4 separate regions of the Homo sapiens genome follow, and regions 1, 3 and 4 are each linked to region 2. Evidence: promoter capture Hi-C in 16 types of primary human blood cells and fetal thymus (Javierre and others, 2016). All regions are on one chromosome and are shown on one strand. The core of a region is centred on a gene start or on the middle of the fragment in contact, and the rest is flanking DNA. Distances in the headings are between cores, read along the strand shown. Region 1 has its middle 61 kb from the start of SLC25A36. Region 2 holds the start of CLSTN2 (calsyntenin 2). Region 3 has its middle 64 kb from the start of TRIM42. Region 4 has its middle 92 kb from the start of SLC25A36.

The links. The method cuts DNA at HindIII sites, captures the fragments that hold promoters and counts their contacts. A CHiCAGO score of 5 or more calls a contact.
Region 1: a contact is called between a fragment that was not itself captured here and the fragment with the promoter of CLSTN2 in region 2, in 4 of 17 cell types (endothelial precursors, total B cells, M1 macrophages and 1 more). The highest score is 10.8, in endothelial precursors.
Region 3: a fragment that was not itself captured here is called in contact with the fragment with the promoter of CLSTN2 in region 2 in 1 of 17 cell types (endothelial precursors); the score reaches 5.2 in endothelial precursors.
Region 4: a contact is called between a fragment that was not itself captured here and the fragment with the promoter of CLSTN2 in region 2, in 6 of 17 cell types (M2 macrophages, endothelial precursors, M0 macrophages and 3 more). The highest score is 8.2, in M2 macrophages.

Annotation. Positions count from the first base shown.
Region 1 is chr3:140,877,583-140,883,542 of GRCh38, reverse strand. No RefSeq gene overlaps it. Among named protein-coding and RNA genes, the nearest start is that of SLC25A36, 61 kb to the left of the region's middle. The HindIII fragment of the contact is 1,058 bases long and covers 2,689-3,746 here.
Region 2 is chr3:139,932,583-139,938,508 of GRCh38, reverse strand. It overlaps CLSTN2 (calsyntenin 2), which reads right to left and starts at 3,324. Exons shown (of 17, transcript NM_022131.3): 1 at 3,026-3,324. The coding sequence starts at 3,134. RefSeq lists silencers at 3,177-3,236, 3,277-3,326. The HindIII fragment of the contact is 3,275 bases long and covers 1,216-4,490 here.
Region 3 is chr3:140,738,210-140,744,957 of GRCh38, reverse strand. No RefSeq gene overlaps it. Among named protein-coding and RNA genes, the nearest start is that of TRIM42, 64 kb to the right of the region's middle. The HindIII fragment of the contact is 1,664 bases long and covers 1,503-3,166 here.
Region 4 is chr3:140,846,342-140,852,530 of GRCh38, reverse strand. No RefSeq gene overlaps it. Among named protein-coding and RNA genes, the nearest start is that of SLC25A36, 92 kb to the left of the region's middle. The HindIII fragment of the contact is 8,464 bases long and covers 28-6,189 here.

The DNA of each region.
Region 1 (5,960 bases), core at 1,968-4,467, 950 kb before region 2:
GTGATAAGCTCCTGTTCTTCCTCTTGGCTAGCCCTGTGATTATTAAACTCCTGCGATATGACTGTTTCAATGAATTAGCCCTGTCCGTGCAGCATGCAAGAAGAACCCATCAGGTGATTGCAGTTTTATCAAGTTAGATTTTTCTGGGAATATCTATTTTTTATGTTTTAAAATTTACTGATACAATATTGTTCACAATATTCCCTTCCCTTCTTCTTTCTCTCCCTCTCCCTCCCTCTTTTTCCTTCCTTCCTTTCTTCCTTCCTTCCTTCCTTCCTTCCTTCCTTCCTTCCTTCCTTCCTTCCTTCCTTCCTTCTCTCTCTCTCTCTTTCTCTTTCTTTCTTTCTTTCTTTCTTTCTTTCTTTCTTTCTTTCTTTCTTTCTTTCTTTCTTTCTTTCTTTCTTTCTTTCTTTTTGACAGAGTCTCACTCTGTTGCCCATGCTGGAGTGCAGTGGCGCAATCTCAGCTCACTACCACCTCCATCCCCTGTGTTCAAGCAATTCTCTGCCTCAGCCTCCCAAGGAGCCGGGGCTACAGGCATGCACCACCACACCCGGCTAATTTTTTTTCTTTATATTTTTATCCTATAAGCTTTGTGTTTTTTAATTATACTTTAAGTTCTGGGGTACATGTGCAGAATGTGCGGGTTTGTTACATAGGTATACACGTGCCATGGCGGTTTGCTGCACCCATCAACCCGTTATCTACATTAGGTATTTCTCTAATGCTATCCCTCCCCTAGCCCCCCACTCCTGGACAGGCCCCGTGTGTGATGTTCCCCTCCCTGTGCCCATGTGTTCTTATTGTTCAACTCCCACTTATGAATGAGAACATGTGTTTGATTTCCTGTTCTTGTGTTAGTTTGCTGAGAATGATGGTCTCCAGCTTCATCCATGTTCCTGCAAACGATGTAAACTCATCCTTTTTCATGGGTGCATAGTATTCTATGGTGTGTATGTGCCACATTTTCTTTATCCAGTCTGTCATTGATGGGCATTTGGGTTGGCTCCAAGTCTTTGCTATTATAAATAGTGCTGCAATTAAACATATGTATGCATCTGTCTTTATAGTAGAATGATTTATAATCCTTTGAGTATATACCCAGTAATGGGATTGCTGGGTGAAATGGTATTTCTAGTTCTAGATCCTTGAGGAATCACCACACTGTCTTCCACAATGGTTGAACTAATTTACAGTCCCACCAACAGTGTAAAAGTGTTCCTATTTCTCCACATTCTCTCCAGCATCTGTTGTTTCCTGACTTTTTAATGATCGCCATTCTAATTGGTGTGAGATGATATCTCATTGTGGTTTTGATTTGCATTTCTGTAGTGACTAGTGATAATGAGCTTTTCTTCATATGTTTGTTGGCTGCATAAATGTCTTCTTTTGAGAAGTGTCTGTTCATATCCTTTGCCCACTTTTTGATGGGGTTGTTCATTTTTTCTTGTAAATTTGTTTAAGTTCCTTGTAGATTCTGGATATTAGTCCTTTGTCAAATGGATAGATTGCAAAATTTTTCTCCCATTCTGTAAGTTGCCTGTTTATTCTGATGATAGTTTCTTTTGCTCTGCAGAAGCTCTTTAGTTTAATTAGATCCCATTTGCCAATTTTGGCTTTTGTTGCCATTGCTTTTGGTGTTTTAGACATTAAGACCTTGCCCATGCCTATGTCCTGAATGGTATTGTCTAGGTTTTCTTCTAGAGTTTTTATGGTTTTAGGTCTTACATTTAAGTCTTTAATCTATCTTGAGTTAATTTTTGTATAAGGTGTAAGGAAGGGATCCAGTTTCAGCTTTCTGCATATGGCTAGCCAGTTTTCCCAACACCATTTATTAAATAGTGACTCCTTTCCCCATTGCTTGTTTTTGTTAGGTTTGTCAAAGATCAGATGGTTGTAGATGTGTGGCATTATTTCTGAGGCCTCTGTTCTGTTCCATTGATCTATATATCTGTTTTGGTACCAGTACCATGCTGTTTTGGCTACTGAGCCTTGTATCAGGTAGTGTGAGGCCTCAGGCTTTGTTATTTTTGCTTAGGATTGTCATGGCTATGTGGGTTCTTTTTTGGTTCAATATGAAATTTAAAGTAGTGTTTTATTCTGTGAAGAAAATCAATGGTAGCTTGATGGGGATAGCATTGAATCTGTAAATTACTTTGGGTAGTATGGCCATTTTCACGATATCAATTTTTCCTATCCATGAGCATGGAATTTTTTTTCCAATTTTTTGTATCCTCTCTTATTTCCTTGAGCAGTGGTTTGTAGTTCTCCTTGAAGAGGTCCTTCACATCCCTTGTAAGTTGTATTCCTAGGCATTTTTTTCCTCTTTGTAGCAATTGTGAATGGGAGTTCACTTATAATTTTTTTTTTTAGACGGATGCTCGCTCTGTGGCCAGGCTGGGAGTGCAATGGCATGATCTCGGCTCACTGCAACCTCTGCCTCACAGGTTCAAGGGATTCTCCTGCCTCAGCCTCCTGAGTAGCTGGGATTACAGGTGTCTGCCACCAAGCCTGGCTAATTTTTGTATTTTTAGTAGAGAAGGGGTTTCGCCATGTTAGCCAGGCTGGTTTCCAACTCCTGACCTCAAGTAATCTTCCTGCCTTGGCCTCCCAAAGTGCTGGGATTACAGGCATAAGCCACTGCACCTGGCTCTACAATATATTTTCTTATCCTTTATTCTTAAAGCTTATTTACATTTTTATATTGAAGTAATTTCAAACTTACAGAAAAATTATAAGAATCATACTAAATAATTCATGTATATCTTTTAACCAGATTCACCCATTGTTAATATTTTGCTATATTTGCTTTATCATTCATCTTTATATCATATATATGAAAATATATGTAATATAAATGTATATATATTTCACGTGAAATATATATATTTGACACACGCACATGTATATTTATTTCTTTTCCCCCTGAATCATTTGAGAATAAGTTAGAGACATTATGCTCCTTCAAACCTTAGTAATTCAGTATTTATTTCCTAACAACAAGATAACTCTTTTATATGACCACAGTATAATTAATGAATTAAAGAAACTCGATGTTTAAGCATTAAACAATTTGACATATAGTCCACATTCCACTTTTGCTAGTTGTTCAATAATGCTTTTCATAGCATTGTTTCTTCTGGTCCAAGAAGAATGTTGCTTTTAGTTATCATCACTCTTAGCCCTTAGATTTCCTTCAATCTGGAATAGTTCCTCAGGGTTTCCTTGGTCTTTCACAACGTTTATATCTTAGAGACTACAGATAGTTATTTTGTAGAAGTTGCTCATCTTGAATTTGTCTCGTGTTTCCCCTGGTCAGATTTGGCCTATGCATTTTTTTTTTTTTTTTTTTTTGGTAAAAGTACTACATAAGTGATATTGTTTGCTTCTCAGTGCATAATGGTAGGAGTCAACTGATGATGATTTGGGATTGTAACTTTGATCACTTGGTTAAGATGGTGTCCAGTAGTTTTCTACATAGTAAAGTTACTATTTTACTTTCTGTAATAAATAAGTAATTTGGGGGAGGTACTTTGAAATGGTGGACATATCCTTCTCCTCATCAAACTTTTACAAATGCATATTCATTATTGATTTTTGTCTGCATGAACCATCATTATGATGGTTTCAAAATAATGATTTTCTTATACCTTCATTTCTTCTATGTTTATAAGTTGACATTCTCATTTCTAGTAAGGATGAATTGTTGTGTCCTCCAGGGTGGAAGAGACCTTGGGTAATAAGCTTGCCACTGAGTGGCTGCTTTATGTCCTCAAGGGATTGTACCATATCAAGCACTCAGCATTGGTGTCTGTTGCTAATGGTCAGGCATTCAGTAGTGGTGGTAGCTAGATCAGCCTTGGAGAGAGAGAGCCCATCATTTCAGGCCATCACGACTAATCCATTCATTTATGGGCCCTTTGTAAGGATTGAGATGGCTGAGGACAGGGGCTGACAGGCATTCATTAGACCAGTCATCCTGTCCATATGCTTATTCAGTGCTTCTTCTGCCACACGTGCTCTCTGGTGGGCTCTAGTGTGAGACACAAAGATCAACACATTATGTGCCCATTCTTATAGCTCCAGCCACATGCCTCTTCCTCAGACATGCTTGGTTTCAATCCTCTAGTGTTGTTCCCTTGAGGCCCTTGACCAAGCAACCAAGCCATTCTCCACCACCTAGAAGTCTGTGTATATTCTTACTTTTGGCCGCTTCTCTCCAGACACAAAGCAGATGACCACTGGACTTGAATTGGCACCCAGAGTTATTTTGGGTGTGTCTTTAGTGCAGCAACAGTCCATATTTTTAGCTCACGCCAGCATATCATGCTAGCCTAATCCTTATAAAGCCCTTTTCCTGCTCCTTTTCTATTCTGTCAACTGTCTGTGGAGAAATCCCCAAGGGGCCATAGGTATTATGTCTGGAATTGGTTCTCTCCGAGGGGTTCTTGGTCTCGCTGACTTCAAGAATGAAGCCATGGACCCTCGCAGTGAGTGTTGCAGTTCTTAAAGATGGTGTGTCCGGAGTTTGTGTTTTCAGATGTTCAGATGTGTCTGGAGGAGTTTCTTCCTTCTGGTGGGCTCGTGGTCTCGCTGACTTCAGGAGTGAAGCCACAGACCTTCACAGTGAGCATTACAGCTCTTAAAGGTGGTGCGTCCAGAGTTGTTTGTTCCTCCCGGTGGGTTTGTGGTCTCACTGGCTTCAGGAGTGAAGCTGCAGACCTTTGCAGTGAGTGTTACAGCTCATAAAGGTAGTGTGGACCCAAAGAGTGAGCAGCAGCAAGATTTATTGTGAAGAGTGAAAGAAAAAAGCTTCCACAGCGTGGAAGGGGACCTGAGAAGGTTGCCGCCACTGGCTCGGGTGGCCAGCTTTTATTCCCTTATTTGGCCCCGCCCTCATCCTCCTGATTGGTCCGTTTTACAGGGTGCTGATTGCCCCATTTTACAGAGTGCTGATTGGTCCGTTTTTACAGAGTGCTGATTGGTGCGTTTACAAACCTTTAGTTAGACACAGAGTGCTAATTGGTGCATTTTTACAGAGTGCTGATTGGTGCATTTACAAACCTTTGGCTAGACACAGAGCGCTTATTGGTGCATTTACAATCCTTTAGCTAGGCAGAAAAGTTCTCCAAGTCCCCACCCAACCCAGAAGTCCAGCTGGCTTCACTTCTCAATCCTCCTTCTAAACAGGACACCACAAGTGTTGTTGGGAATTGGCCGATGACCGCTCTAGCTATTTCCTGCTGGATAGGGGCAAAGAAGGGGCCCTGCAGTTGTAGTGTCCTCCAGAGGGGAACTCTTTAGGCCAGTGAAAGGGCCAGCAGGTTGGTCTGGGGTCCTCAGTAGAAGTTGTTAGTTGAGCTCATTTGGGGTTCCATTTGTAAGACCATCTGTAGCTTGATGGCCTCAATTCTAGAGGAAACAAATTTGACAAGGAGATTAAAAATACAGGGTCCAAAGGCAAGAAATAGCAAGATGGCTGCCACAGGACCTAGAAAGGGGAGAAGCCATGTTGCCCAACTCCAGAGGTTGGTATAAGAATTTGAAAGGCGTTGTCTGATTTTAGAAGCCTTTTCCTGTAAACTCTGGGTGGCATCTTGTACTATCCCTGACTAGTTAGTGTAAAAACACTTTTCCCCTAAGAAGGCGCAAAAGTCCTCCTTTCTCAGCAATGAGGAAGTCTAGGCTTTGGCAGTTTTGGAGCGTCACTGCTGCCAAAGAGTCTATTTGGGATTGTAGGGTAAGGATAGATTTCGTTATTTCTTGCAAACTGTCTGAGAAATCCTTTGAGAGTGTGTAGTAGTAGGATAATGAAGGAATAAACTGGCTATTCCAGTTCCTGCAGCAGTAGCCATTCCTAACGCTATAAGTAGGGGTATTAGTTGTATGGCTCTGTGCTGACAGACTTGAGCTTTGAGGGGTACTGATAGGGTCTGATTTCCGCAAGATTAGAAGTTAGG
Region 2 (5,926 bases), core at 2,075-4,574:
TATAATTGCCTGGCCACTGTGTGATTTCTGAAATTGGAAATATGTCTACACTGAAAGTACAGTGATTCTGTGAAAACCCCAGGTAGTTGTCCGGGATTAACTGCTCGAGTCCCTAAAGCAAGAAGCAAGAAGCAAGAAGCACAAAGGCAGAACAAGCTGTGCACCACAGACACAACATCTTACACAAGACTGAAGCTGGGAGCACATGCTTCCAGACAGTTGTTTGGAGGGTGCATTCAACTCTGTCAGAAAGCTTGACTCCAGACTCCCAGTGTTTTTCTACACATGAATACAGAATTGTACGAAAGAAGTATCTGGTTTTTTGTTCAATCTTCACACGCCTTCCTGATTTTTTTTTTTTTTTTTTTGTGATGGGAATAACAATGGTATGAACCTTAAAAATGGCAAAGTCAGAGGCAGGGTGCATTATACACAAAACATACAGCTTTATCATTTCAAACATTCTTCAGAGATCATATGATTTGGAAACATAAAATGCAAGTGCATTGTTATAAGGAAAGTCAGTCCTGTAAATACTAACTAAAGTGTCATAATAAATGTCTCTGTTGTAATCAAATATTACACATTTATCTTGAAAAAAAAATCAGCAGCAAACAGAGCTCTTTGCAGCCCCCCAGTGGTTGGAAGGGGAAAGAAGCGAGAACAAGGGGAATTCGGACAGTTAACTCTCAATCTGCAGGGCCAATAAACTTTTTACCCTGGAAAAACAAATGTCTAGTTTGTTTGTTTGTTTGTTTGTTTTTGAGACGGAGTTTCATTCTTGTTGCCCAGGCTGGAGTGTAATAGCGCGATCTCGGCTCATTGAAACCTCTGCCTCCCGGGTTCAAGTGATTCTCCTGCCTCAGCCTCCCGAGTAGCTGGGATTACAGGTGCGTGTCACCACACCCATCTAATTTTTTTTTTTTTTTTTTTTAGTAGAGACGGGGTTTCTCCATGTTGGTCAGGCTGGTCTCGAACCCCTAACCTCAGGTGATCCGCCCGCCTCGGCCTCCCAAAGTGCTGGGATTACAGGCATGAGCCACCATGCCCGACCTGACAAATGCCTAGTTTTAACCAAAAAATGAATATGTTCTAAGTCGGATGTTGGTTAAAATGCACATAATTATCCACATAAAGTGAATCATTGAAAGCCTGGGGTTTTTATTTTCCTTTTTTATCTCTCTCCTTCTCTTTCTCGCTTACCTCTATGAAGCTTCCCATTCTGACCTGAGAACTCAGCCGTGCATTATTACTACTCACACCAGATCCTCTTCCCAAATGATTTCTTCCCTGTTCTGCACTTGCTGTGTGCTTCTCACCCTCCTTCAAACTCCCGTTTGCAGACATCTGCTTATATCAATTACTGTGCTACAAAGTGATGGGAAATCTCCTCCCCCCCACCCCCCAAAAAAGTAATTTGCCTGTTTAACAAAGTGTCTATATTGGGAAAGCAGGGGGGAGATGTTTGGAAGTTCATTGTTTTTTATTCTTGTCTTCACCAAAACAACAGTCTCTCAGCTTGATCCCTTCATATCAGCCACTTCTTTACCGCACTCTGAGATATTTTCATAACGAGTTTTTCTCTCATGAAATTTCTCATTTCTAAAAATAGAAACTGCCTGTCAAAGATACACCAAGAAAAAAAATGCTGAAAAGAAACAGAATGCCTGCTTATAAAATATTTTCAAAACGATGACACCAAAAAATTTAAAAATTACAGATAAACATAATCTCCCATGTTCTTCTCAAATATATCACTCCTAAGTTATTGGAGGGCCAGTTTCTAAAGCCCAGACAAGGCGAACTGCCTGCCTCCAGCTCTCCCCAACCTCCAAGAGTAATGCAGCCTGATAGGCATTTCCTCCCCTAAGCTAGTGGTCAAGTGTAGCTCAAAGCAAGCGTCCGAATCAGGCTGTCTCTAACAGGGAATCTATTTTCTGACAGGCGCAAACCCCTCCGCCCTCTGATGATTGCCAGGCAGGATTTGGGGACCAAGTACCCCTCATTGTCACCTGGCGGATTTGGCCACAGTCCACAAACCAAACGCAAGCCCTACTTATGAACAGCGCAGAGAATCAACAAGTTATCACTAAGCTGTGCGCCCCAGCTAGGATCTGCCACAGCCTCCCCTGAGCCCACCACTGTTCCCCACCAGCTCTGCTCTTCCCTCGCCTCCCCACCCCCTGCAAGCACGTGACCTCCTGTTTCAGACCCGGCCCCCCACCCCAGAGCTCCCGACGCTCCCAGGCAGCTGTCAAAGTCCGGGGTTCGCCGGCTTCCAGGCTCGCCTGACAGAGCCAGGCGTTCGCTTGGATCTAGCTTCCTTCCGGGCGGGAGGCGCGGGGAGGTCAAGCTCTTCAAAGGAACAGGGTGGGCAGGGGAGTGGTGCCAGGTTAGGCTCCTCGGTCCTCGGTAGTCAGAGCGGAGTAGGAAAGGCAGCGGGGAGCCTCACATCCCGCGCTTCTTCCGGACCCCGCCGCCTACCCGGAGGGTACACGTTCCCCGGGGAGTCAGAGACGCCCTGGGGGAGCTTGAGGAGTGTCAGCGGGGCCTTCCCTGGAGCCTACAAGTTTCCACTCCATCCCCGAGCTGGGAGACAAGTCACAGCTCGGCTCCCTCCTTGAAAGCACCGCCGCTGATCCTTCCCCCAGGCAGGAGCAGACACCTGCTTGTCCCCACGGCGCGCCAGCGCCCTGCTCTAGCCGTCCCTGGGCCAGAGCTCGAAACTCACCCACTGCGCTCCCACCCCGGCACAGACAGCCCTCAAAGTTGTCCGTACTCCCCAGACCTCGCCTTCTGCTCAGCCCCCGGACCCCGCCCAGGGGTTGAGTTGACGTCCGCGGGTGGACCTCTCTGGTCCGCTGCGCAGGGAACTGACTTCGGGAATCCAGGGCGCACAGAGGCCAAAGAAGCTGCGGCAAGGGAGGGTGGGCAAATCCAGCTTGAGCCTAGGTCCTTGCCGCTTTCACCCTCAAGCCTGCCCTGCCTCCCTCCTGGGAGAAGAGCAAACTTCCCCAGCACCCACCTTTAGCCGCGAGGAGGCGGCGCTGCCGGCTGTCCCCGCCACCGCCGCTGCCGCTCCCCACGCCCAGCGCCAGCAGGAGCGGCACCCAGCACAGCCGCCCAGGCAGCATCCTCGCAGCAGCCGCCAACGAGCTGCAGCCGCCGCCTACTGTCCGCGCCGGCTCTCGCCTCCCGGTGCCTGCCGCACCGTGGGCCGCCTCGCCGTGCCCGATGGGTGCGCTTCTAGCGCTGCCGCCGCGGCGCTCGGCCTCGGGTTCCCGCCGCTGCGCCGCTAGCTCGCCGGCAGCAGCCGCGCTCACTGGCGCGGACCCGGAGCGGCTCAGGCGCTCACCCCGGGACGGCCCGTGACGTCACGGAGGGAGGGAGGTGGCTCGTGCATATTCATGAACGCGGGCATCGGCGCCGGGTTCCGCGCTCCCCGCCCCAAGGCCCCGACCCCCAACTTTCCTCAGCCGTCTCCACGCTCCGGGGCCCTGTCCAGGTCCCCCTGCCCAGTCGGGACCGGGCCCCCAGAGGACCCTGGTGGGCGGCTCCGGAGAGCCCTCCAGCCCCGCGCCTCCACTCCGACTCTCGGAAAAGCTGCCGCAAGGGATGGAGGGCTCCCCCAGAAAGTGGCCACCCGAGGCCTGAGGGTCATCTGGGGTGGCGCGAGGGACCCTGACCTGCCATGCCCTTTGAACTGATATCTGGGCGGAGAGGACTGACGGGCGTCGCTAAGGGTCTTGCCCTTGGCTGGGTCTCTGGGCGTTCTGCGTCGACTGGTCTGGGGAGGGCGCCAGGCGCACACTAGAGCAGCGCCTAGTGGTGCTAGGGGTTGTCGGGCAGAGTAGATAGCCTTGGACCTGGATGGCAATGGCAGGGCTCCGCGTCATCTCCGAGAAGCAGGGGCAGCCGCGGCTCTTAGAGGCTGATAGAACAGCTAGATCAGAAAACTTGGGGTGCTGGGCCTGCTGAGGCTGCAGTGGCGGGGGCGGGGTGTCAAACTTAAAATTCCCTGCGGTATGGTGCCATGCAAGAAGTTGCCACCTTTATGTTGTCACTCCGCATCTCTAAGAACAGGCTACTTGACGTCATGCATTGTAAAATCTCGTGCCGTTGAGTATTGTCAGTTCCCTGAGTGCAGGAGCCAGTGCATATCTTTGCATCCTCAACCATCTCTAGGCCGTGAAAAAATTACAAAGGTACTCAAAAAAAAAAAAAAAAAAAACAGTAAGGACTCAGAATAAATCCTTGACCATATTTACCTAAATGAAATGCCAACATCACACACAATGCAGGGTTTATGAGGAATAGTTTGGAAATAAAGTAGATATGGAAATACAGAAACAAACAATATTATTTATTTAGTCATTGATTCAAGACGTTTGCTGAGCATCTAGACAGGCTGTATCACCCTGACAGTGAGCACTGGATTAGTCGTTGGAGATCCAAAGACAGAGGAGAGAGTGGGTCCTATCCTCAAAGCTTTTGTTCCCTGCTTGGGGAGCCAGAGAGGGCAGCAAAGGCAATTACAATCCCTTGTAAGTGTTATGGTCCTGCACATTCTTTATGTTGCTAGCTATGAGCCTATACAAATCAATTAACAAAATGTATATATTGCAAGAGTGCCTAAACAGCATCCTCTAATTAATAACTGTAGTTTGAGGTACTCAACAAAGCCATAAAATCCATTAACAGCACTCCTGCAGCTCAGCCTCCCTCTGCTGCCCTGGCAGCTCACTCAGAGCCTCTGCAGTGGTGAAAGCCAACTCTTCAGGATTTCAGGCACCAGGATGTGCTTGGGGACAGCAGTGAATCATGGTGGCTGCATGGGGCTCAGACCCATGTGGGGCTCTTTACCTTCAGGTCTCCTTTAGCCCACAAATCAACATGTGCGCTATTATTCTCATTTCACACATGATGAAATAGAGGCTCAGGGAAGTTAGGTAACTTCCTTGTTCAGGGTCAAAAATCTAGTAAATGTCCCAGGCCGACACCAGGACCTTGCCTTTGTCAGATGTTGGTTTCAGAATCTAGAAAAGATGGCATGGAAAGGTGGTAGCTGACCCAGGGAAAATAAAAAAGCCAGAAAATAGAAGAGAAATGTAAATTTGTCTCATTTTCTTCCATTTATGCTCCACCCAACTACATATCTGCCCTCCTCCCTTCATTTTCTCTAATAAGTAGACCTATCTTACTGACTTACCTGCACTGTTCTTTGATGTCATTATACTGGGCTTTGTTAAGATCACTGATTGGTCCTAATAATTTTATGTGAAGTTTCAAATTCAGACCAAATAATGAGAAACAGGGGGAAATGTAGCTTATTAGGAAGCATCTCCATGGAGAGATAGCCAGGAAAGAACACAGCAAAGAAAAACACTAGGGGGTGGGCCAGTTACCAACAGGCACAAAATTGCTAGCCTCCATCTCCTCCTCTACCAATGAGGGTAATAACAATGCCTATTGTGGTAGATCAAGTGCACTAATGGCCATTTGTCCATGCTTCTCTGAATCTGTTTCCTTTGGATGTGCCCTCCCACCCCAACTCTGAGCTAGGCCATATGATTTGCTTTGGTCAGTGGGACAGTGGCATGCATGTTGCTTCTTCCTGCCTTGAATCCCTGCTGCTGACATGAGAACAAGCCTAAGCTAACCTGCAGAAGGGTAGGAGACTGCATGGAGTAGAACTGAGCTGTTTCAGACAGCCAAGGTCACACTAGGCTGGTCAGAACCAACTGGCCTACAGGCTGGCTAACCACAGACACATGAGCAAGCCCAGGTAAGCTCAACCAAGATCAGCCAAGCCTGGCTCACATCAGAACTATCCAGCTGACTTATGAGATACAATAAGTGGTTTTTGCATTAATTCATTATGTTCTGGAGCAATTGATTGAGCAGCATTATGCCTACTTCATAAGAT
Region 3 (6,748 bases), core at 1,085-3,584, 810 kb before region 2:
ATGCTTAATTATTTTATTTTAAGAGTGTCCTGGACATTTTCTTCAGGTAGTCATAGAAAAACCACATTCGATTAGGCTCTGTTCTCTAATACTAAAACAAAAACAAATGAACAAATGAAACCCATAATAAAAAGTAAACCAATAACAGTTAACAAAACAACCAACCAACCCAACTGTATAAAATAACCAGAAGACATCAATAACTCCTTTCTTAACAATTTACCCCAGGACACATGTAAAATACAGAGAAGTAGAACCTTACATGTATTAAGTGCTCTCTATATATTAACAGATGTGACTTTCGTCCTCTAAGATGCAGATCTCATCCCATGGCCCTGGCATGGTAGGATCTGTAGCTTCTTGGAGTGGATTTAACAGCTACAGGGGCTCCTTGGGGAGATGGGGCTGAGTTAGGATTATAGTTGTTGAATGTCCCTGGCTTGATGTGATGTGCCACTTTGGATGCAAGGACCAAGGAGGACTCTCTGAAGCTCTCTGCCCTGAGCCATCAGATGAAAGGTACATTTCCAGCCATGAGTATACAGTAAAGTGACAATCTTTTTCTTTGTTGGGGGACAATCATGGCTTCATTAAGTATTAATTCTTCAGGGACAGTGGGCAGGGCTTCTCTTTGGAGCCTTTATGATTTTTAAGGTAGGGTCAGCACTTAGTCATGCTGGTTAAAGGCTCACTGACAGGCTAGTCCCTGTAAACACTAGTTTATAGTCCCCAAGAGGAAAGATGATCAGTAGAAGGAGACCAGTAGGAAGGGAGTTGGGAGACCTGGAACTTAGTCCTAGATCCATGATCTTTCTGAGCCCCTCTGGATTCCACCCACTCTGCTGATTGCTGGGGGTTGCTGTGAAAATCAACTGAGTTGATGAACATGGCGATGGATAGGAAAGTCCCAAAGAGCGATATAAACGTGATTCACTGGTTGTGTAGGTGGATTTATCTGTGAATACACATAACATAAAATTTACCATCTTCACCATTTTAAGTGTACAGTTCAGCAGTTACATTCAAATAGTGGTGCAATCAATCTCCAGAGCTTCTTTCATCTTGCAATACTGAAACTCTATACTCGTTTAAACAGCAACTCCCCATTTCCCCTTCTCCCCAGCCCCTGGCAAACACCCTTTACCTTCAGTCTCTATGGCTCTAGATATCTCACATAAGTGGAATCATATAGCATTTGTCTTTTTGTAATTGGCTTATTTCACTTAGCATAAGCTCCTCAAAGTTCACCCATGCTGTAACATGTAGCAACATTTCCCTTCTTTTTGAAGATGAATAACATTCTATTAAATACAAAACCACATTTTATTTATGTGTTCTTCTGTCAATGGACACTTGGGCTTCTTCCACATTGTGATGATTATGAATAATACTTCTATGACTATGGGTATACAAATTGCTCTTCAAGACCCTGCTTTCAATTCTCTTGGGTATATACCCAGAACTGAAATCACTGGATTATGTGGTAGTTATGTTTTCAAGCTTTTGAGGAACTGCCATACTGTTTTCCACAATGGCTGCATCATTTTATATTCCCATCAGCAATACACAAGGTTTCCAGTTTCTTTACATCCTTACCCACACTTATTACTTTTTTTTTAATAGTAGCCATTCTAATGGGTGTGAGGTGATATCACATTGTGGATTTGATTTATGTTTCCTGGGTGATTAGTTACGTTGAGCAACAAGCATTTTATATGCTTGTTGGCTATTTGTATATCTTCTTTGGAGAAACATCTGGTCATGTCCTTTGTCCCTTCTTAAAATCAGGTTTTTTGTTGTTGTTTAGTTGTATGAGTTCTTTATACATAACTTCATTTTATTTATCTGATTTTCTTGCAATCCAAGCCAAACTTACCTGATTTGGGAAATAAAGAAGTCTTTATTTCCCCAAGGGTCATGAAATGAACTCATACTTTCTGTTCATGGATTATCTAATTTCATCTTCATAGCAATCTGTGAATAAGTTATTACTATCACCTTCACTTTAGGGAAGAAGAGACTAAGGCCACAAGGAGTCATTGTCTTTGACCAGGTCACAGGTAGTAACTGACAAAGCCATTACAGCCGGTAGCTAGGTGCCTAGTCTGTGCTGTGAAACTGCTCCTGTCTGCCTTGGCCAGTGCAGAGATTCCTGGGTGAGTTCTCACGGTCTGAATGACATATTCTGTACCCTCTGGACAGCCTGGTGGTCTACCTTTAGACATTATCCTGATCTCTTCCCATCCCTTGCCAATAGGCACTTCAATGTGACCCAAGTTTGTGAGTCTTAACTTAGACCAGACCTGAGGCTAGTTCTTGGAATCAGAGATTCATTCATTCATTCATTCTACAGATATTTGTTGAGCACCTACCAAGTTTTAGGTATTAAAGCAGATTATCCAGTATAAATAAGACCCAATTCTTCCCAAGTTGCTCACACCTAGTGGGGGAGACAGACACAAAATGCGTGTGTATTGTTAATTTTGTGTGTCAGTTTTACTGGGTTGTGGTGCCCAGACATTGGGTCAAACATTATTCTCGGTGTGCCTGTGAGGGTGTTTTTGGGTGAGATTAACATTTAAATTTACAGAATGATTAAAGCAGATTGCTCTCATGAATGTGGTGGGCCCCATCCAATCAGTTGAAGGCCTGAATAGAACAAAAAGGCTGATTAAGAGGAAAGTCCTCTTGCTTGACTGCTGAGCTGGGACATTGGTTCCTTCTTTACTTAGGGCAGAAACAATGGCTTTCCTGGGTCTCAAGCCTGCTGACTGCAGACCTTGTGACTTGTCAGCCTCCATAATCATGTGAACTAATTCCTTGTAATAAATCTCTCTCTTTCTCCCATCCGCCCCTTTCTTACACACACACACACACACACACACACACACACACACACACACACACACATACCCTATTGCTTCTGTTTCTCTTGAGAACCCTGACTAATACAGCACAGTTATGAAGCAGAGTGGCCAGCTAGTGGTGGAGGCATCAATGCTCTGTCACGAAGGCTCTACCAACACAGAAAAGTGGGCCTTTGATCCCAGTCTGGGAGACCTCAGGGCACATGGAACTCCTTCCTTGCATCAGCAGCCTCCATAAGGGCCACACTTCTCTGGCCTGGTAAATTCCAGGGGCCATGGCTTCCATAATGTCTAAAGCTTTCAAAGATATTGGCAGATGCATGGACTTGTGCACTCAGTAAATGTGCCTTGAATACCCTTTGTGGGATGGATCCTGTTCTAGGAATACAGTCTTGAGGAATGCAGATTCAGAAGCCCCTCCTCCTATGAGACCTATGGTATAGCAGAGATGGGAGACTAGTCAATAAGAAAATAGTAATAAGTTCCATGAAGACAATCAGTTAGGCATTGTGTTGACTTCTTGAGTTAGGTGAGAATCACATTCCAGGCAGTGAGAAGAGCCAGGGTAAAGATGAATACAGAAAGGAGGATGATGGAGCTGGACCTGCTGAGCATGGGCAGGATGGTCTAAGGTGAGACCAGAGAGCTGGGCTGGGCCCCTGACCATGGAAAAGAGCTTGGATTTTATTCCAAGTGTGAAGGAAAGTCTGGAGAGTTTGGAGTAGAATATTGTGATCTGATTTATAATGAAATAAAATGTCCCTCTGTTGCAGTTGTCTAGACAAGAGGTGATGGTGACCAGGACTAGGTGGAGACAAAAAAAGAGGGACAGGCATGGGCAGGCTTGGGATATATTTTGGAGGTAAAATTGATTAGAATTGCTGATGAATATTGGGGAAAGGAAAAAGGAGAATGGACTTGAGGAAGAAGCCCTAATCTAGGAAGCGGTGATCTGGCTGTCTCTGAGGTCAGCAGAGGCCCCAGATTGGAATTGGCAAGGGCACTGGCCACAGAGAGGGCAAGGCCAATAGGTTTTGAGCTGAGGCCTGTCATGCCACTTTCTTTAGTTCATCTGAGCATCGAGTTAACAGTTTCTAGTCTCTTCCTTAGTTATCCCATTACCTGGACCAGAGCTGTCTCTGGAAACACTTTAGATCACCAAGGAAACGTGGGGCTATCTTCTGCTTCTCTTATCTTGTCTTAAGACCTACGTACGCCTCTGCTTCCCTGAGAGGGGATGCTGCTCAGTTCCTGGGCCTCTCAGGTTCTGGGCAGAGGTCACTGCATGCCCTTGGGAGAGCTGCCCATAGGACACACTGTTCCCCTAATGTGTTAGGCTCTTCATACCTCTGCCCCATCATGCTGCACTCTGTGCCTGGAAGGCCTTTCCCCTCCTCTGAAGACTGACTCCAACATCATGCAGCAGCCCTTTCTGACAGCTGCTCCCACTCCAGGCCTCTCCTCCTTGTATCCACAGCCTCTTGGTACATGTAATAATTGTCCCTTAACTGAAGAGTCCTCCTGCATGAGCTGGTGGATTTCCAGAGGGCAGGAACCATGTCTAACTTATCCAGCCCACAGCCCAGGGGGCTCAATCATTGTTTGGATGGAAACAGCAAAAAGAATCCCATTGTTGGGTACAGCAGTAGTGGGCTGGGGGAGAACAACTTGACTTTTCCAGAGATGTCTGGCTTCTCTTCCATAAACCATGCTTCATGTACCAGCAGCACAGATGATAATAGACTCCAGCTTTATCTTCATTTCTCTGATTAGGAAGATCTACTTTTGAGTTAAGGTTGTAAATGAGGTGCTGTGACTGCTTCTTGAATAAAAGACCAAAATTTGCTTGAACTTAGGTGATAAGTGTTTTACTTTTACGACATGTTTGGCATTATGTTCAAAGCAGAATACATTAGACGTTCTTATAATACAGGCTCAGTGTTGGGCTAAAATTCAAATGTGCTCGCACAAATGGGAAAAAGTCTGGAGGCTTTAATCACAGCTTGTGATTCAGCCTGATTGACAGTGTTTCCATTTTAAAAAGTCTCTGTTTTTCATGTGAAATGAATGACTCTTTTTTCATTTTGTTCCTTTAATAGGAAATGTTCTCATCGTGGAATGAAATCTCTACAAGCATCCCATTAAATACTAAAATGTTACTGCTGTGTCTGAGTGAAATTACCATCCAGGGGAGGCATCGGATTGTAGGTGTACAATGCTAGAGTATGTTTTCCCAACTTGCTGAGCTTGGAGGCAATTTGTTCATCTGAGAACACATGCACTCAGCATCCTTGTCCTTCCTCTCCTTCAAGTGAAACCTTGTTTGCACATTAGCTGGGCCTTTTCTGGATGTCAGCTCTGGCAACTCCATTCCGTCTACTTCAAGTGAAGAAGGACTTGGTGGGAAAAATCTCAGAGTGAGTTTCTGAATCCAATCCCAGAGAAAAAGCCAGGCAGCAGGACCAGAGGTGGCGTGGAGTGCCACCCCAAGCCAGTGAGCCTTTACTTTCTTTCACTTATCCATGTTTTCTCTGCCCCTCTGACTTACAGTAGTCCAACCATCTTTGCTGCACAGTTCTCACAGTGGAACAGGGTCATTGCTACCACTCCCAAATTTGCCTGCACCAAACCAGCCACTCAGAGAGAGTCTGACCCCCTTCTCAGTCTTAAATGCAGTGCCCTTCCTTGAACCAGTCTCTAATAGCCACACATGGGTCACATTATCCAATGGAGCTTCTGCTACAACCCTGAGATTGGATGAGGGAGGGTCATTTCCTAGGAAAGCAGTAGGAAGAATGTAATCCAGGCTGCACCCATTACATTGCTAACAAGGACCCAGATCCACTCTACAACAGAGAACAAGCTTAGTGAAGCCTACCATGCTGGAATTCACATTCTGACAATGAAGCCCATAAAGACCTACTGGTGGACAAGGGGTTACACAGGACAGAGAACATGTATTTCTGATTCTATGTGGAGCTGTGACCACATGTAAATCCCAGATGCTTGCCATCACATTCTTAGGGCTTGTGCAGTTGATTTGTCTTGGCAGAGGGGCAGGGGGAGATGTCGCCACTCCTCCCAAGCCGTTTCCTTTCTCTCCCTCAGACTGGACCCTCACTAGGGGATATTTGCCACAGACCAGGAGCCTCCAGCCTCACTGATAAAGTTGCTGACCCTCAAAAACATGGCTTCTATACATCTTCTAGATGCGGTATTGGGACTGAGAAAGGCAATTTGCTAAGGTCCCACAGAGAGGAAGAAGGGACTGGGATTGGCATTCGCATATTCTTATATCTAAGGCCTATGTTTATTCCATAATACCACACTGTTCCCAGGGACAATGGATAGAAAATAGTCCTATTGTGAGAAAGGATGTAGACGTGCATGGATGGACCAGGTATCTGCTGGGATTTCCAGCTGCTAGGACCTCACGCTGGCTTAGAATCCCATTCTATGCCTCGTGGAAGCTCACAGACCTCCAGCAGATATTGTTAATTTCTCAGGGGCTTATGTGCCCACTGTTCTGTCATGGGTCAGGTTCTTGGGCCTGTGGGTGCTTTTTCCATATGGCATAGCATTGACCCAGACATGCAGACACCTTCCTTTTATTAGGTAATTCTCTGACCCTCAGGTTTTGTCAATGTGAGTGTAGCAGCCTTCCTGAGGATTTAGAAGTTTCCTTCTGATGATGCAGACAGTCTACGTTTGAATTAGTCCCACACTTTATCTTTTGGTCACCACATTCAGCGACATTTCCACTCACTCTACTCCACAGAGTCCTGTTCCTGCTCACCATCCCCAGAATTCACCTCTATTTCCTACTTTTTCTTGAGTTTCAGGGTAAAACATATTTTCTCATGCCTAAGAGCTGCTAGATC
Region 4 (6,189 bases), core at 3,010-5,509, 910 kb before region 2:
TGGTTTCATGTGGGATTATTTTAAGCTTCATTTCTCTGCTTTGCTTAGGCTGGTCTCATCTCAATGTCCCTAGTTGAGCATGAAAACCCATGCCTTTCATATATCCACCAGAAAACATATATGAAATGTTCATAGCTGCTTTATTCATAATAGTTCCAAACTGGAAACAACCCAAATGCCCCTGAATAGTGGAGCTGATAAATAAATAGTGGTATATATTTTACAATGGAATACTACACAGTGATGAAAAAGAACAAATTGCAAATACATGTAATAACAGGTTGAATGTCACAGATAGTAAAATAATCCATCAAAAAGAATATCCACTGTGTGATTCCATTTCTATGGAGTTCTAAAATAGGCAAAACTAATCTTTGATGTTGAGTCAGGAATGTTGTCACTCTTGAGGGAAGTTATTGACTGAAGGGTGGCATAAGGGAGCCTTGTGCAGTTCTGGAAATATTCTATATCCTGAGCTGGGTGGCAGTTACATGGTTGTATGTATATATAAAAATTCATTAACTGTTGTGGATTTTACTATATACTAATTATACCTCAATAAAAAAGTAAATGAATAAACAAACAAAAACCAGAGCAGCCATAAGATGGTTGACATAGTTGCCTCTCTGGTTTTTAGTTCCTCTGTATTTCTGGACCCTGGAGATTTCCCATTCTTTTTTGTGAGTTCAGCTGAGGATGTAAAAGAAAATTTTTGATTTGATTGCCCACATCCCTTGCCCATTCCTTGAAGGTAGCTCACAAGAGTCTGCCATACTGCAGACCTGGAAGTCCTTGGTTTTCTTCCATCTTAAATCTTAATGCATCTTAAATGCATAAAGCAGGTGGCTCATCTTATGGAATACAACATATTTTTAGAATAGTTGTTTCTCCATCTAGGTGTTCAGAACAAATTACATTGGGGTACATTTATGTTCAGGGAGAGCTGTTGGAGTGGGCCCTTTTGGTTATTTAAGTGTAAATTCCCCATTGGTGAAAGAGCATAATAGGGCCTTGTGTGGCCTGATGGAGACAAGTCCTAGAAATGCTTTTTGTGATCTGAGATGGTTTGGGAGAAAAGGTATACAAATTTTCACAGGGGCCAAGGAGTCTTCTGTGGGGAAGGCATTGAGAGTCTGACTACCATCATCTAGAAGTTCAGCTGTAGTAGACCTTCTCTAATGGACTGGGATGACCTAGTCTGAAGTCTTGCAGTGAGAAAAGAGGCATTCTCTGGGAAGTCTGGACTGATAACCCAGGCTCAAAATTAGGGGATAAGGGATCACGGAGAAGCAATTTCTGATACAAGATGAGGCTGAGGTGAGAAGCCTTTTATGACCCACCCACCTTTCCACTAAATTTATGGTTGAGGAATAATGGCTGTGCATGACAGTGTAACTTAAATGACTGCAACATGAACCAACCGTGAGAGTCTTATGGCCTGTACAGGGACAGAGGAGCAATAAGAGCACCACCTCTGCTGGGGACAAGGAATCAGCTGATTGTTTGGCACTAGTTGTTAACAGCAATCCTGGAAGGCAGCAACACATTCAATGACAGATGAAAACTGAGTCTTCCTGTGGACAGAACAGACTTTCCAATTCACACTCCACCTGGCCTTCAGGTGGAACTGAACCCTTCAGGTTAAATAAGCTCCAGTGGTGTGGTAGACTAAGTGCTTGGTTAATCAAAAGTCATTCACAGGTTCTTCCCTCCTTGGCTTCTCTGTGATAGAGGGTGGAAAATGAACTTACTCAACTTCCCAGCTGCCCTTGCAACCAGAGCTGGTCATGTGATCTGGTTCTGGCCAATAGATGTAGGCAGAATTCACATGCCAAATTAAAAGGCAAAATCTCTTTGCCCTTTGCTTTTCCCTCTTCTTCCTGTCTAGAGGTGCAGCAGCCTTCCTGTGACCACAAGAATGAATCACATACTAAGGATGGTGAGACAGGAGCCTGGATTTTTGATGGCATCCTTGTGCAGCATTCCATCCCTGGGCTGTCTAATTCTGGATTTCCTGTTATGGAAGGGAAACACATGCCCATTTGTGTAAGCTACTATGAATCGGGTTTTCTGTTGTTTACAGGGGAACTCATTCTATAGTGCTATAAGGGTGAGACCTCAAGGTGGTAGATACTAAACTGCTTGCAGCTGCTCAAGTGACTAATGGGAAAAAATGAAAGAAACATGCTCGTGTTGGTAACCTCAGCTGGTGATACGGATCATGCAGTTTTTGGCATTATATTATTTATTCCCAAAATAGCACTATGACAGAAGCAAAGCAGGTGCAATCCACACTTAATATTCGATACCCTTGGAAACTACAGCCCAGAGATATTCAGTGAGGAATTTTATAATTATAAAAGTAATACATATTCACTGTACAAACAGTGTAAATAGAGAAGAGCATAAAGAAGAAATTTCTTAAAATTCCCCCACAGTACATTTTGATGTGTTTCATTCTGCTTTTTTTCCTTTGTGCAAGCAGCCATTTATATACACATACTTTATGAGATTTGGATCATATTCCATAGAGTGATTTGACTTTTTTTTTTTAAATGACTTTCCAAAGGTCACATAGATTGCTCCTGTGGAAGTCAGGACAGAAGCTGGGATTAACTTGTTTAGGACTAAGAACAACCCTTTTGCTTTGATAGATAGAAGACTGTGATATACCTTCTTAGCCTTCCCTTTTCAGAGAATGAGAAGAGAGGGGATTCCAGAGAAAGCCAAGGAAGGCTATTCAAGGACTGTGGTGAGCAATGTGTAGCCCTCTCTTCAGCCTCCTTTGTTTTTTTTCACTTGGAATTCTCTTTGCTGTGCCTTGTCCTTAGTGGATCACAGTGTCCTCTGCACAAGATTGTCTTGTTTTCTAGGGTGAGGGCTCAAGGTCTCTTGACTGGCCTCAGGGGGATGGTCAGTAGTCAGAGTGGAGCCACTTGTGTTCCTCCATGCCAGTTGGAGTCCTGGGGCTCAGAAGGGTTGGAGGAGAAGGTAGAGGAAGGAAGCGATTGTAGGAGAAGAATAAAGGAGGAAGGAGAAAAGAAATAACAATATGGAAAAGGCAAAGCTCTATAGACCCCTGGTAGATGGGTTTCTCCCATCCTCATCCCCCAGCCCTGCTTTCTTGGGTCTGCACTTGGGCCTGCACTTCTGTCCCACCATCATGTTAATGACACACAAGCATACCCAATTTCAAATTCTACCTCTTCTTACTTGTTCTGACTTTAGCAAGTTCTTTAAATTCCTTGATACTCCATTCCCTTTTGTGCATTGTGAGATGACAGACAAGGCTTCCTGGACAGTGTCCACCCCACCAGCTAAGTCAGCAGTGTAAGCCATATCCTACCTGGGCATGAGGTTGATGGGAAGAACCCTGACATCTGACTCTTGCTGGGGCTGGGTAGGATGCCTGGTAGAAAGCATTATAGGGTGTCCTTGCTTCTGTCAGAGCTGGCAGGGGTTGTCTGTGTTAGCTGAGTTCTTCACTAAGAGTAAACTGATTGTATCTTCTAACATGATTGGCATAATTCATATGGTGGAGGGAGATAATTCTCTACTGCTTTCATTTACATACAAAGATTGGTGGAGGAGAAAAGGAGGATCACATTTCAAATTCACCAGCAGTTGCTAGAAGCTGACAGCCCAAGAGATGGAGCTGAAGAACACGGATGTGTCTGGGCTCTGGGAACTCCAAAATGAGTGTCTTGGGTACTGTCATGACTATCTCTCTTTTCATATCTTGTTTTTTCTCCTCTTGGCTCCTTTTTGTAAACATGCTTCATTCTCTCCCTGAAAACTGGCTTTCTTTTTCTGCTGAAACATGGCATTCAGCACCTCTAGAGATTGATACATTTCAGCTGATGCTTAAGCAGCAGCTTACATTGGCTTAAGCTGATGCTGAAATTTATCAATCACTAGAGGTGCTGGATGCCGTCAGAGAGGGGCTGACCCAATTGCTTCTCTGGTCCCGATTCCAAAATGCCCAGGGAGGGGCCTCATTGGCTGAACATGGAATAGATGGCCACAACTTGACCAGTCACTGGGGTAATGTAAGAACCGTGTAAACCCCCAGGATTATTACAGATGGATAAGGGGCAGGATTTAAAATAAGTGCTTCTACATAGGCAATTCCGTAGGTGTTCACAAGGGGAATCACATGTGAGGAGTGTCTTCAGGGGAAGGCTGGAGTGTCTGCAGAAAAATTAACAGTGAGAAACTCCTAGAGTCACCTGAACAAAGGATATGATGGGCAAGGTTGTCTGCTAGTCAATCTTACGCTGTTTACTTTGCTAGGATGTAAAGCTATTCTGTCTCCCAAAACATAACGCAAAGCCTACCATATGCTTTTTAATGCTTTGCGAGAGTGATCTCTGCGTGAAATCAAAGGCTCTGCATCTCAGGTCTGCACTGGTGCCCAGCAGAAGGGGGAGATCAGCTGTGGGCACAGCATGTGTTGAGGTAAGTGTGTTTGGAACTAGAATTTACCTCAAGACATGAAATCCCTGGGAATTTTCCAAAACCTTGAAAATAGCATTGGGTTTTCCACAAAATAACAGGTGCTGCTTAAGCCTACTTTAGTTATTATCAGTGAATTGGAGACCTCAGTTGAAATTTGTGTTCGTGTACCAAATGGATGTAAGCCTTATGTCACAAATAAGAGTTAAATGATATCTATATAGAGAGTTCAGCGTCAAGTAAGCATGCAGTAAATGATAGTTCCCGCCTCCCTCACCTACTCATTGCTAGTATTCAGGGACAATGGTTTCAAATGCTTCCTAAGATTTACTTTTGTGTGAAAGAAAATATTTTAGAAAAAGAAACAGACCTAGCTTTTCATCCATTTTGTCTCCTACTAGCTGAGTGATTTAACCTGTCAGACGTTGGTCTCTGCATCTACATGCTGAAGGTATTGATACCCATCTCAGGTGTGGGTACAATGGTGGGGCGAGAGAAGGCATGTAAAGCATTCTACTGCCTGAGGCACACTTAGGTACCCACAAAACAGTGATTACATCTCTCTCATATGTTTTTCTCATTTCTTTAATTTCACTACAAACTTCTTGAGGGCAGAGCCATGTTTATTAATAACATTTGATCTTTCTAAGGTACTATGGTATTTGCAAAGTCTTTTTTACACCCCCTGTTTATTGCAAAGTTTTCTTCAGAGCCTGTATTTCCCATTTGATTCTCATAATGGCCTTGTGAAGCAGGTAGAACAGATCCTAATTTTTTCCACTTTAAGAAGAGGCTGACTGAGTTGTGTTTAGCATAGAGCCTGGCATTTGTTGGGTGCTGAATGTTTGTTGAGTGGTTTTGAGTGAGCTCCACATGTGTAGGTACTCTATGCCTGCTGATTGAATCTATGCATTTGTTAATTCATTAAGCAAATATTTATTGACCACCTATTACGTGCCCATCTGCAAAGAACAAAAATCCTGCCCTTGTGGCACTCACCTTCTAGGGAAATGAATGAATAAATTAATGATCAAATGAATTGAGAAGAAAATGAGGAGGAGCTGCTTGAATATCAGTCCTGGATATTTTCTTTATGACTTTTGAAAAAGGAGTACTTGTAGAATTTTAGAAGGACAGATATGGAAGGAACCTTGGGGAACATCTAGTTCCACAGAATGAACATTTTAAAGCCTGGGAACACTGTTTAACTGAGAGCTTTTAACTGAGAACTGTTTAACAGTCATCCAATTTATATAGCAGACACAGTAACGGCTTCTTTGTAACTACCTCTAGTTCTTTACAAAATTTTCTCAATCCCCAATCTTTTTCCAACTACCATTTCACTTCTCACTTCTCTCACAAAACTGGGAAGGGCGTGTCACATGCTGTCTTTATTCTCTACACTCCTCGCTCCTTCTCCAACCCACTTCTGTCTGGGTGTCATTCCTATCCTCCATCAAAACTGCTCTCAAGGACCTCTGTGTTGACAAGTTCAATGGCGCTCTTCTGTTCTCGTTGTTCTTGACCTCTCAGAAACTTTGACACAGCTATTTCCTCTTCAGTGAGACACGCTCCTCTTTGATCTCCATGGAATCATTCTCACTTTCCCTCCTATCTCTTTGATCATCTTCAGTCTCTTCTATTGGATCTCCTCTTTTACCTTTATGTTTTGCAGTTTCTTATAATTCAGTCTTAGGTCTTACTCTTATTTCTCTCCATAGTCACTCCATAAGT